3 separate regions of the Homo sapiens genome follow, and regions 1 and 2 are each linked to region 3. The links are contacts of gene promoters, found by promoter capture Hi-C in blood cells and fetal thymus (Javierre and others, 2016). All regions are on one chromosome and are shown on one strand. Each heading gives the region's core, a stretch centred on a gene start or on the middle of the fragment in contact. The rest is flanking DNA. Distances are from core to core; before and after follow the strand shown.

Evidence for each region. The method cuts DNA at HindIII sites, captures the fragments that hold promoters and counts their contacts. A CHiCAGO score of 5 or more calls a contact.
Region 1: a fragment that was not itself captured here is called in contact with the fragment with the promoter of MAML3 in region 3 in 1 of 17 cell types (M1 macrophages); the score reaches 5.8 in M1 macrophages.
Region 2: a contact is called between a fragment that was not itself captured here and the fragment with the promoter of MAML3 in region 3, in 2 of 17 cell types (fetal thymus and total CD4 T cells). The highest score is 6.4, in fetal thymus.

Annotation. Positions count from the first base shown.
Region 1 is chr4:139,628,449-139,631,545 of GRCh38, reverse strand. No RefSeq gene overlaps it. Among named protein-coding and RNA genes, the nearest start is that of QKILA, 6.7 kb to the right of the region's middle. The HindIII fragment of the contact is 178 bases long and covers 1,627-1,804 here.
Region 2 is chr4:139,291,127-139,294,365 of GRCh38, reverse strand. NDUFC1 (NADH:ubiquinone oxidoreductase subunit C1) reads left to right here. Exons shown (of 6, transcript NM_001184989.2): 5 at 1,757-1,836. The coding sequence ends at 1,816. Among named protein-coding and RNA genes, the nearest start is that of NAA15, 8.8 kb to the left of the region's middle. The HindIII fragment of the contact is 965 bases long and covers 887-1,851 here.
Region 3 is chr4:140,152,889-140,155,885 of GRCh38, reverse strand. It overlaps MAML3 (mastermind like transcriptional coactivator 3), which reads left to right and starts at 1,702. Exons shown (of 5, transcript NM_018717.5): 1 at 1,702-2,997. The coding sequence starts at 2,559. The HindIII fragment of the contact is 806 bases long and covers 1,246-2,051 here.

The sequences.
Region 1 (3,097 bases), core at 466-2,965, 520 kb after region 3:
ACAGGTAAAAGACCACAGCAAAGCACGAAGCTAGAAATAATTTAAAGCTAAACATTATGCATAATGTCCTAAAGTCCTTGAGAGGAATTTCTCAAGGACCATTTTCCCCTTAAATCTCCACCTCTGCCAGTTTTGTTCAGGTCACTTCCCTCTCTAGAGATTCTTTACGTTTCCTCCTGTCCAGGGCATCTGAAACCACCCTCACAGGTTAACAAGAATGACAAGCCATGCTTTAGGCAGAATTTTAGTTAGGCATTGACCAGGGTGCACAGGTGCACTTTGACCCACTTCCCTGCACCAGCTAACTAACCGAGAGTCACAGAGCAGGCTGACCACCAGCTCCTCTATTGTTCCTATCGATGGAATCTGTGACATTTGACCTTTTTACCCAAGAACTGCTTAAAGTGTTTTTCAGAACCTGAATTCCTGCAGAACGGCTGCCACCAATCGGTTTAAAGACCCCCACCAAGAAACTCACTCAGCACAGGAATGTTGTTTCTTCATCTCCCTGTCCCATGACTTCACTCCTCACTTCTGGACCAATCAACAATCCCCACACTTTAGCCATTTGCCCATACAGAGCCCTTAAAAACCTCATCCCCAATCCTCTCAGGGAGGTGGATTTGAGGTTTCCTCTTGTCTCCTCATTTGGCTGCCCTACCATTATTAAACCCTTTCTCTGTTGCAACTCCTTCTGTTTTGGTGTATTGATCTATTACTGCACAATGGGAAATCAAACCTGGTGTTCCTATAATATATATGATCCTCTGGCCCCCTCTTGCAAGCCTATAGGGAAATACTCTTAAATTCATGTACAGTGAATGTACATGCAGCATGCAGTCCTCTTTTCACAATCCCTGCCCCTGTGGCATCTCATTCTTATTTTTAAAAGTCTTTTCAAGGTATTTCCCAAAGAAAAGAGTCATCAGTCTTTATGATGAATTCTGCTCCTTCTCAGAAACGCATAATTGCAATAATCATAGAATTATTTTGATAAAGAACTTCATAATGTTGCTGTTACTCAAGACAAAATGACATCATGTAGGTGACAGTGTCGGAAATCTGAAAAGCACTTTTGTAATTCAAGTATAAAAGGAGAGAAATATTACATACAATCCCACAACCTAGTCTAGTTAAAAGATGATCCAAAAACTGAAGATCCATTGGTCTACAAGTCCTCAGACATGGCAAACTTGAAGAAACTGGGCTGTGGCTACATGCAATGCTCAGTTGAATGCATACTTAAATAAATGAAAGAAGTGTGCATAGGGTGTAACACAAGGAGATACTTAACTAGGCAGATTTTAGCCATTCCATTGAAAAATGTTTCAGAATCATCATGGAAGCCAGGCTAGGTTGGAGAATGAATGGGAGTGAGAAAATGGAGAAATCAGCATGGCTTTTGTTTTCCTAGAAGTTGAGTGTGAAAAGGAGAAAGACAGCATAGTAACCACTTAGTTTCAGCCATAACACTCCATGGCATGATCCACACTCTCCTCTGAAGTCTGGTTTTTTCACACTCATCCTGTCTCCTAGAGAAGATCCTAATAAAGGGTCCCTTCCAGCATCCAGCTCTCCATTCCTCAAGTGCATTGGGCCATGTCAGACCATTTCCTGAGTTAAGCTTAGTGTAACTGGAGAGACAAGTAAAAGGGACAGGCGTGCAAACATGGAAAGAAAAGCAGGGAGGTATGCTATGGACTAGACTGTGTCCTTCCCAAAAACCCTATGTTGAAGCCCTAATCACCACTGTGACTGTGTTTGGAGTTAAGGCCTTTTAGGAAGTGATTTCCTTAAAGAAGCTTCGAGGATCACTTGAGATTAAATAAGGCCAGAAGAGGAGGGCCCTCCTCCAATAGGACTGGTGTCTTTATAAGAAGAGGAAGAGACACCAAAAGGAAAGGCCATGTGAGGACATGGCAAGAAGGCAGCTAGCCGCAAGCCAGGAAGAGAGGCCTGCTGGCACCTTGACCCTGGATTTCCAGCCTCCAGAACTGTGAGAAAATAAAGTTCTGCTATTTAAGCCACCCAGTCTGTGGTATTTTGTTATGGCAGCCTGAGTAGACTAACATAGGATGGTTAAGAAAAACAAACAAACAAACAAACAAACCTACAGTCATCCTTGGTTATATACAGGGTATTGGTTCCAGGACCCCCACAGATATCAAAATCCGAACATACTCAAGTCCATACTCAAGTCCTACAGAACCCATGTGAAAAGCCAGTCCTCAGGTTTTGCATCCTGGGAATACTGTATTATCGATTAGCTTTGGTTGAAAAAAAAAATCCAAGTATAAGTGGACCCTTGAAGTTCAAACCCGTGTTGAACTGTACAGTGCAGGGGTCAACTGTAATAATAAAGGAGGAGGAGGGGGGAGGGATAGCTTTAGGAGATATACCTAATGCTAAATGACGAGTTAATGGGTGCAGCACACCAGCATGGCACATGTATACATATGTAACTAACCTGCACATTGTGCACATGTACCCTAAAACTTAAAGTATAATAATAATAAAATAAAATAAAAATAAAAAAGAGCAGTAAAAAAAATATAATGATAATAATAAAGGAGGGAACTTGTACTTTGTACTTTTCTTCACAATTTTGGGTAGGTCTGGCTCTAATGGCATAACTTGAGAGAGAAAGGGAGAAGGGGAGTATGTGACACATGTCAATCTGTCACAGCACAGGACACCGGCTCCCACCGGCCTCACCCTCCCTCCCCATCCCTATTTGCTGTCCTCCACTCCCTGGGCTTCTTGGCTGCTGGTCAGCCTCAGAGGTTGCTTAGTTTTAAAATATCCCTGCTTAGACGGCTAATGTTCCGTGGTGGGACTCGTGGATTTTTTTTTCTTCTGATTTATGCTAGGATCAAAAGAAGCTTTAGAGTCTTTCCTGTTGCTATCGACCCATTGAGATCGGCTCTGCAGCCAGAGGCCTCGCTGTGATCCGCCGAACGCCAGGGATTAGTGAAGATTCCACAAGAGATTTGAACAGTACCCAGTGAGTACACCTTGCATTCGTCTTTGAAAGTATATTATGGACCCAAAGTGGTGTATCACCCACAAATTCTTCCTCCTCCTTTTCTTTCTAACC
Region 2 (3,239 bases), core at 120-2,619, 860 kb after region 3:
GCAGTGTGCAAGTTGTACAAATTGAATCCCAGTAGACTTCCATTAGGTTTTAATCAATGTTTGTATAAATACATTGTTGGAAATTGTACATAGTGTGTAGCGACCTTTTTAAAAAAATTTTCAGGCCGGACGTGGTGGCTCACACCTGTAATCCCAGCACTTTGGGAGGCCAAGGTGGGCGGATCACGAGGTCAAGAGATCCAGACCATCCTGGCTAACACAGTGAAACCTCGTCTCTACCAAAAATACAAAAAAAATTAGCCAGGTGTAGCGAAGGGCGCCTGTAGTCCCAGCTGTTCAGGAGGCTGAGACAGCAGAATGGTGTGAACCCGGGAGGTGGAGCTTGCAGTGAGCCGAGATCGTGCTACCGCACTCCAGCCTGGGAGATACAGCGAGACTCTGTCTCAAAAAAAAAAAAAAAAAAAAAAAAAAAAATTCACACCACATGCTTTACACATAAACTTGCGTTTAATCATTTCAACAACACTACGTGGCACCTACTATTGTTGACCCGTTACAGATAAGAAACACTTGGAGAAACTAGTTTGCTGAACCCAGTTCTCCTGACTTCAGAGGCCACACTATCCTAGAAAAGACTGTGAAACACTGCCTCTGTTGGGATAAAATTTCTTTTTAAAGTTAAAGTATCTGCTATATTAATATTTAAAATTTTGTTTTTTATCTAATGGGTTTGGGACTTCCTCCACTGTCCCCCAGCTCTAAGATATTTTAAATTTTCTTGTTGAAGTGGTTCAGATTTTTGACTTGGAAAGGGGTGAGAGATTTTGAGTCACTTACAACTTAATAGTAACTCATCTTTTTGAATAATGTTGCTTATAATGAATTTTATACATTCTTAATTTAAGGTTTTCTCTAACAAGAAGCTTAATTACTGCTGAGAGCACTAGTGATTGAACTTGGATCTTTGATTGCCATGAATGTCATCGTATATAAGCCATTTTTCCAGTTGCATATTCTGTCAGACAGTGGTCCTAAAAATGTGACTGTCCTCCATGACATCTAATTAATACACATACAGTTTCGTGATGGGGTTGGTCATTCAATCAAGGTATCCTACTTCTAAGATTAGAAGCATAACACGCACCCACCAACCAGCCTGGATCCCATTTAATAACCAAGTTGTGCTGTATCATATTGATTTACCCCTTCATGATAAGCCATTTCATTACGTTTATTACCCACCAAATGAGGTAAAATTTTTGGCAGTAGTTTAATTTAAATTTTTGGCCAGGTGCGGTGGCTCATGCCTGTAATCCCAACACTTTGGGAGGCCGAGGCGGGTGGATCACCTGAGCTCAGAGTTCGAGACCAGCCTGGCCAACATGGTGAAACCCCATCTCTACTAAAGATACAAAAATTAGCCAGGCGTGGTGGCAGGCGCCTGTAATCCCAGCTATTCAGGAGGTTGAGGCAGGAGAATCGCTTGAACCCAGAAGAAGGAGGTTGCAGTGAGCCAAGATCACGCCATTCCACTCCAGCCTGGGGTGGAGCAAAACTCCGTCTCTAAATAAATAAATAAATATATATATATATATTTAAGGGCTCCCTTCTCAAATTTAGGATGTCACATTGTGGTGAGCAAGTTTATACCATTCCTGGTTTTTGAACTTTTGGATCTCTTAGCCTTTTATTTCTAACTAGAATAGTTGTTTATTTTTTCTATCCTTATTCCTTTACAAAATATAAGTATCCAGGAAGATTACATTTCTAATTTTAACTGTTTAACTCTTTGTAGCTCATCAAACAACACAATGAAGATATTTTAGAGTACAAAAGAAGAAATGGGCTGGAATAAACTTTTGAAACACTAATGTAGTAAGTATACAAGCTTATTGGATGAATAGATTATGCAAATTAACTTGACCTCTTTTTTAAATACTGAAAAACAAGCTTGTTGTTTGTTTTGTATTAGGTTTATACATTTTAGCACCCATATTTCTGTCTGTGACAAATTTATAAATTTGTAATACCTTGCCTCAAGCAGTTGGTTTTGTTTTGGGGGGGATGGGGTTTTTTTTGTTTGTTGTTTGTTTGTTTGTAGACCTGTTGGCCAGGCTGGTCTCACTCCTTGCCTCAGCTTCTGAAAATGTTGGAATTATAGGTATGAGCCACTTTGCTAGCCTCAAGAATCTTTTAGCGTAATCATTTTTAATCATTAGTCTTTGACTCTGTTCAAAGAAAGGTATGTTTAAGAATGAAACCAAAATCTGCCAGGCGCGGTGGCTCACGCCTGTAATCCCAGCACTTTGGGAGGCCGAGGCGGGTGGATCACAAGGTCAGGAGATCAAGACCATCCTGGCTAACACAGTGAAACACCGTCTCTACCAAAAATACAAAAAAATTAGCCAGGTGTTGTGGCGGGCGCCTGTAGTCTCAGCTACTCGCGAGGCTGAGGCAGGAGAATGGCGTGAACCCGGGAGGCAGAGTTTGCAGTGAGCCAAGATCGTGCCACTGCACTCCAGCCTGGGTGACAGAGTGAGACTCCTTCTCAAAAAAAAAAAAAGAATGAACCCAAAATCATATTATTTTCTTAAATCTGATAGTGCTTTACACTTTGCTTTCATAGCACTTATGACAAATTATTATTCTTCGTGTGTGTATTTCTTAATGTCTGTTTGGTATCTTGTACACTTGAGTGTGAATTCCATGAGAACAGAAACCTATTTTATTAATTATCCTTTATTCAGCAACTTGCTCATCTGGTCCATTTAGGAGTTTAATATTTGTAGAAGTGATGAATGTATAACGGCAATCGATTCTTTTTATTTTATTTTATTTTTTGAGACGGAGCCACCAGGCTGGAGTGCAGTGGCACAATCTTGGCTCACTGCAACCTCCGCCTCCCAGGTTCAAGCAATTCTCCTGCCTCAGCCTCTCGAGTAGCTGGGACTACAGGTGCGCGCTACCACGCCCAGCTAATTTTTGTATTTTTGATAGAGACGGGCTTTTCCCATGTTGGCCAGGATGGTCTCCATCTCTTGACCTCGTGATCTGCCCGCCTCGGCCTCCCAAAGTGCTGGGATTACAGGCGTGAGCCACTGCGCCTGGCCAGAGCAATCAATTTTTAAATTTTTTTCTGCATGACTATTTCATTATGATTGTCAACTCAACTAATACCCAGTTGGACAGTTCCTGGTAAAAAACCTAGTTATGAACAAGATAGTTTATTCTGCATGGTCTGTGATTTAAAAGAGAAAGTTTATTATATATATATATAT
Region 3 (2,997 bases), core at 453-2,952:
TATTTTCAGAATCTGAACGGGCTCTTTTGCTACAGACGTAGTCCAGTTAAATTTTCTGACTGAGACTTGAAGAAGGGCAGTTTGATACAGAAATTTGTATATTAACTAAATAGCCTTCAGAAAAAGTGTGGCAACTTCAATGAAATATACACTCTCTTAAGTTGGTTTTACTGCTTAGAAGTAGCCTCACACCGTATTAAATATTTTGCTGCCCATTTTGCCATATATCCAGTGAATATTAAAAATATCGTTCACTATATAGAACTGATTAATTGAAGAAAAATATAGCTTCTTATCGCTGACATTATGAGGTTAGAAATAGCATCCTGTGCTAATCTGCAATGCCAAGAAATGAAGATGGTTTAAATCAGATCTCATGACTAATGCATAAGATCCAAAGTTCTTTTATTCCTGGCTATTTTAGAAAACTGGGGTGTATTTTTACCCTAAAAACTAATTCTTAAGATTTATTGAAATAATACAAAATGACTTATAATTAACATCTCACAATCAAGATTTATAGTTTACTGATTATTAGAGAAATAATAATTTCTCCATCTTAATTTTTAAAAATATGTATATGCAATGGTTTAAGTCCATATTCAAGAATATTTGATCCTTAGTTGTTATTTTTGTTTTTAGATAATATCGGGAAAGATAATGTGCTTTAATAAAATGGAAAGTTTAGATTGATTTCTGCAGTTGCTAGTCCATTTTAATTGTACTTATTGTGAATTCATTGAAATGGAAAGAAATATATCCAGCAATAAAGTAGGCCTGTTATTTTTGCTTGTTTTTGTTTTGGTCATGACAAACTGTGAAATGCTGTGTTTTTTCTATAGTTCTAGTCTATGAAATCTGCAATCTTTCCACTTGATTTACGAAGGACCTTAATTACTGCTGTCATTAGCACCTAGTGTTCAAAACAGTCTGTTTAAATGTACTGTTAGTCTCACCTCCAAGTCCCTGCTTGCTTTATTTTTTTCCAAGGGTAAGTAAAACAATAATTGACTTAGTAACAACAATCATTATGTACAGTGAGTTAAATATTACACATTTTTGATGCCTATTTCTATTTATTTAGAATTTGGTATTTGTGTGTTCAGTCTGGCCTAGACTTGGAACAAGTGTCCGTAAGTAGCGCTGTTACTAGCGCAGACTTATTACCTGGGTTTTAAAAACAAGTCACTCATTTGCCTTTTTCTTTCCACATGGATAGGGATGACAGACAACTGCTGTAAAGCTTCAATGTTTCTGCCTGGTCATGCACAGTTCTGCAATATAATGCATAAATGTATAACAACAACTTGGGATCGCTTGATACTTTCCTTGGAATAAGGAAACCCTACCAGGCGCGTCCCCGCGCACGCGCGCGCGCATACACAGACACACACACTCACACACGCTCTCACGCACACACACAGGTCAAAAGTTGATTTATTTCTGAGATCCCCCCAGAATCTTTCTTCTCTCCGTCGCCGACGGCTCTGGGCTTCTCGGCGGGGCGGTAGTGTGGTTGGGGGCGTAGGAGGGGCGCCGGGCGCCGAGGCGACGGAGACGGGAGCCGGGTGCTGGTGCGTGCCGCGCCCGCTCCTGCCGGGTGAGAGTCCGGGCCGGGTTTTGCGCCGTGTCCGCGGGCCTGTCTCACGGCCTCCAGCCGCCGCCGCTGCCGTGTTTACTGAGCTCGCGCGTCCTGATATCACTCCGCTGGCATGGAGGAGGAGGAGGAGGTGGAGGAGCGAGAGGAGGAGGAGGAGGCGGCGGCGGCGGCGGCGGCGAGCAGTTGATCATTGTGATGGTGGCAGGAGCAGCGGCGGCAGCGGCAGCCCAGCCGAGCGTTAGGTGCTGCTCTCTGCGCGGCGTTTTGCAAAGGACTTCACCGATCTACTTTTGCAGTCGCCTCGGACTGTCCATGTGTTTACTTCCCCCAGCCCGAGGATTCGATATCTAGGTTCCTGTGAAATGCAACTGAGCAGCCAAAGTACTTTGAGAACACGGGGCGGCATAAACACCAAAACTTTTTTGTGGAAGGAAAATGCAATAAGCAAGCTTGCCGTTTTCCGATGCGGTGTGGAGTGAGTGTGTGTCGCGCGTGTCCGCACTGGAGGCATATGCTTGTGTGTGTACATGGGGTGTGTTTTTCGGTATGTAGGGAGAAAATGCTTGCCAACCACCGGAAATCTCCTGGAATTTATTAGAAAATAATGGATTATAAAAAGAAGGCAAGCAAGGAGCGGATCTCCCCTTGAGTTGCAACCCGATTTGCTGCTGGCTCAGTTTGTTGTGATTCTTTTTGTTGATAGGTGTCTGATGGTATTCCGATAACGTTCCCCCCTTTTCTTCCCCTTGAGCTTTTACAGTTTAAAAAAAGGAAACAAAAACCACCCCAAAATCTCCCCCCCCGTTTTTTTCGCCCCGTCGGGATCGCCGTTTCCATCCATGTGCTTGCGTCTCCCCCGCGTTCCACTTAAACTATTTTAATCCTTGGACCCAAGGAGGAGGCTGATAGGGGGGTGGATAAAAAAAGTTCTTCCAAAATAGTGTGCCCGGGGAGCAGGATGGGGGATTTCGCAGCCCCCGCTGCTGCCGCGAATGGCAGTAGTATTTGCATCAACAGTAGCCTGAACAGCAGCCTCGGCGGGGCCGGGATCGGTGTGAATAATACTCCCAATAGTACTCCCGCTGCTCCGAGTAGCAATCACCCGGCAGCCGGTGGATGCGGCGGCTCCGGGGGCCCCGGCGGCGGTTCGGCGGCCGTTCCCAAGCACAGCACCGTGGTGGAGCGGCTCCGCCAGCGCATCGAGGGCTGCCGTCGGCACCACGTCAACTGCGAGAACAGGTACCAGCAGGCTCAGGTGGAGCAGCTGGAGCTGGAGCGCCGGGACACCGTGAGCCTCTACCAGCGGACCCTGGAGCAGAGGGCCAAGAAATCGGGCGCCGGCACCGGCAAACAGCAGCACCCGAGCAAACCCCAGCAAGATGCGGAGGCTGCCTCGG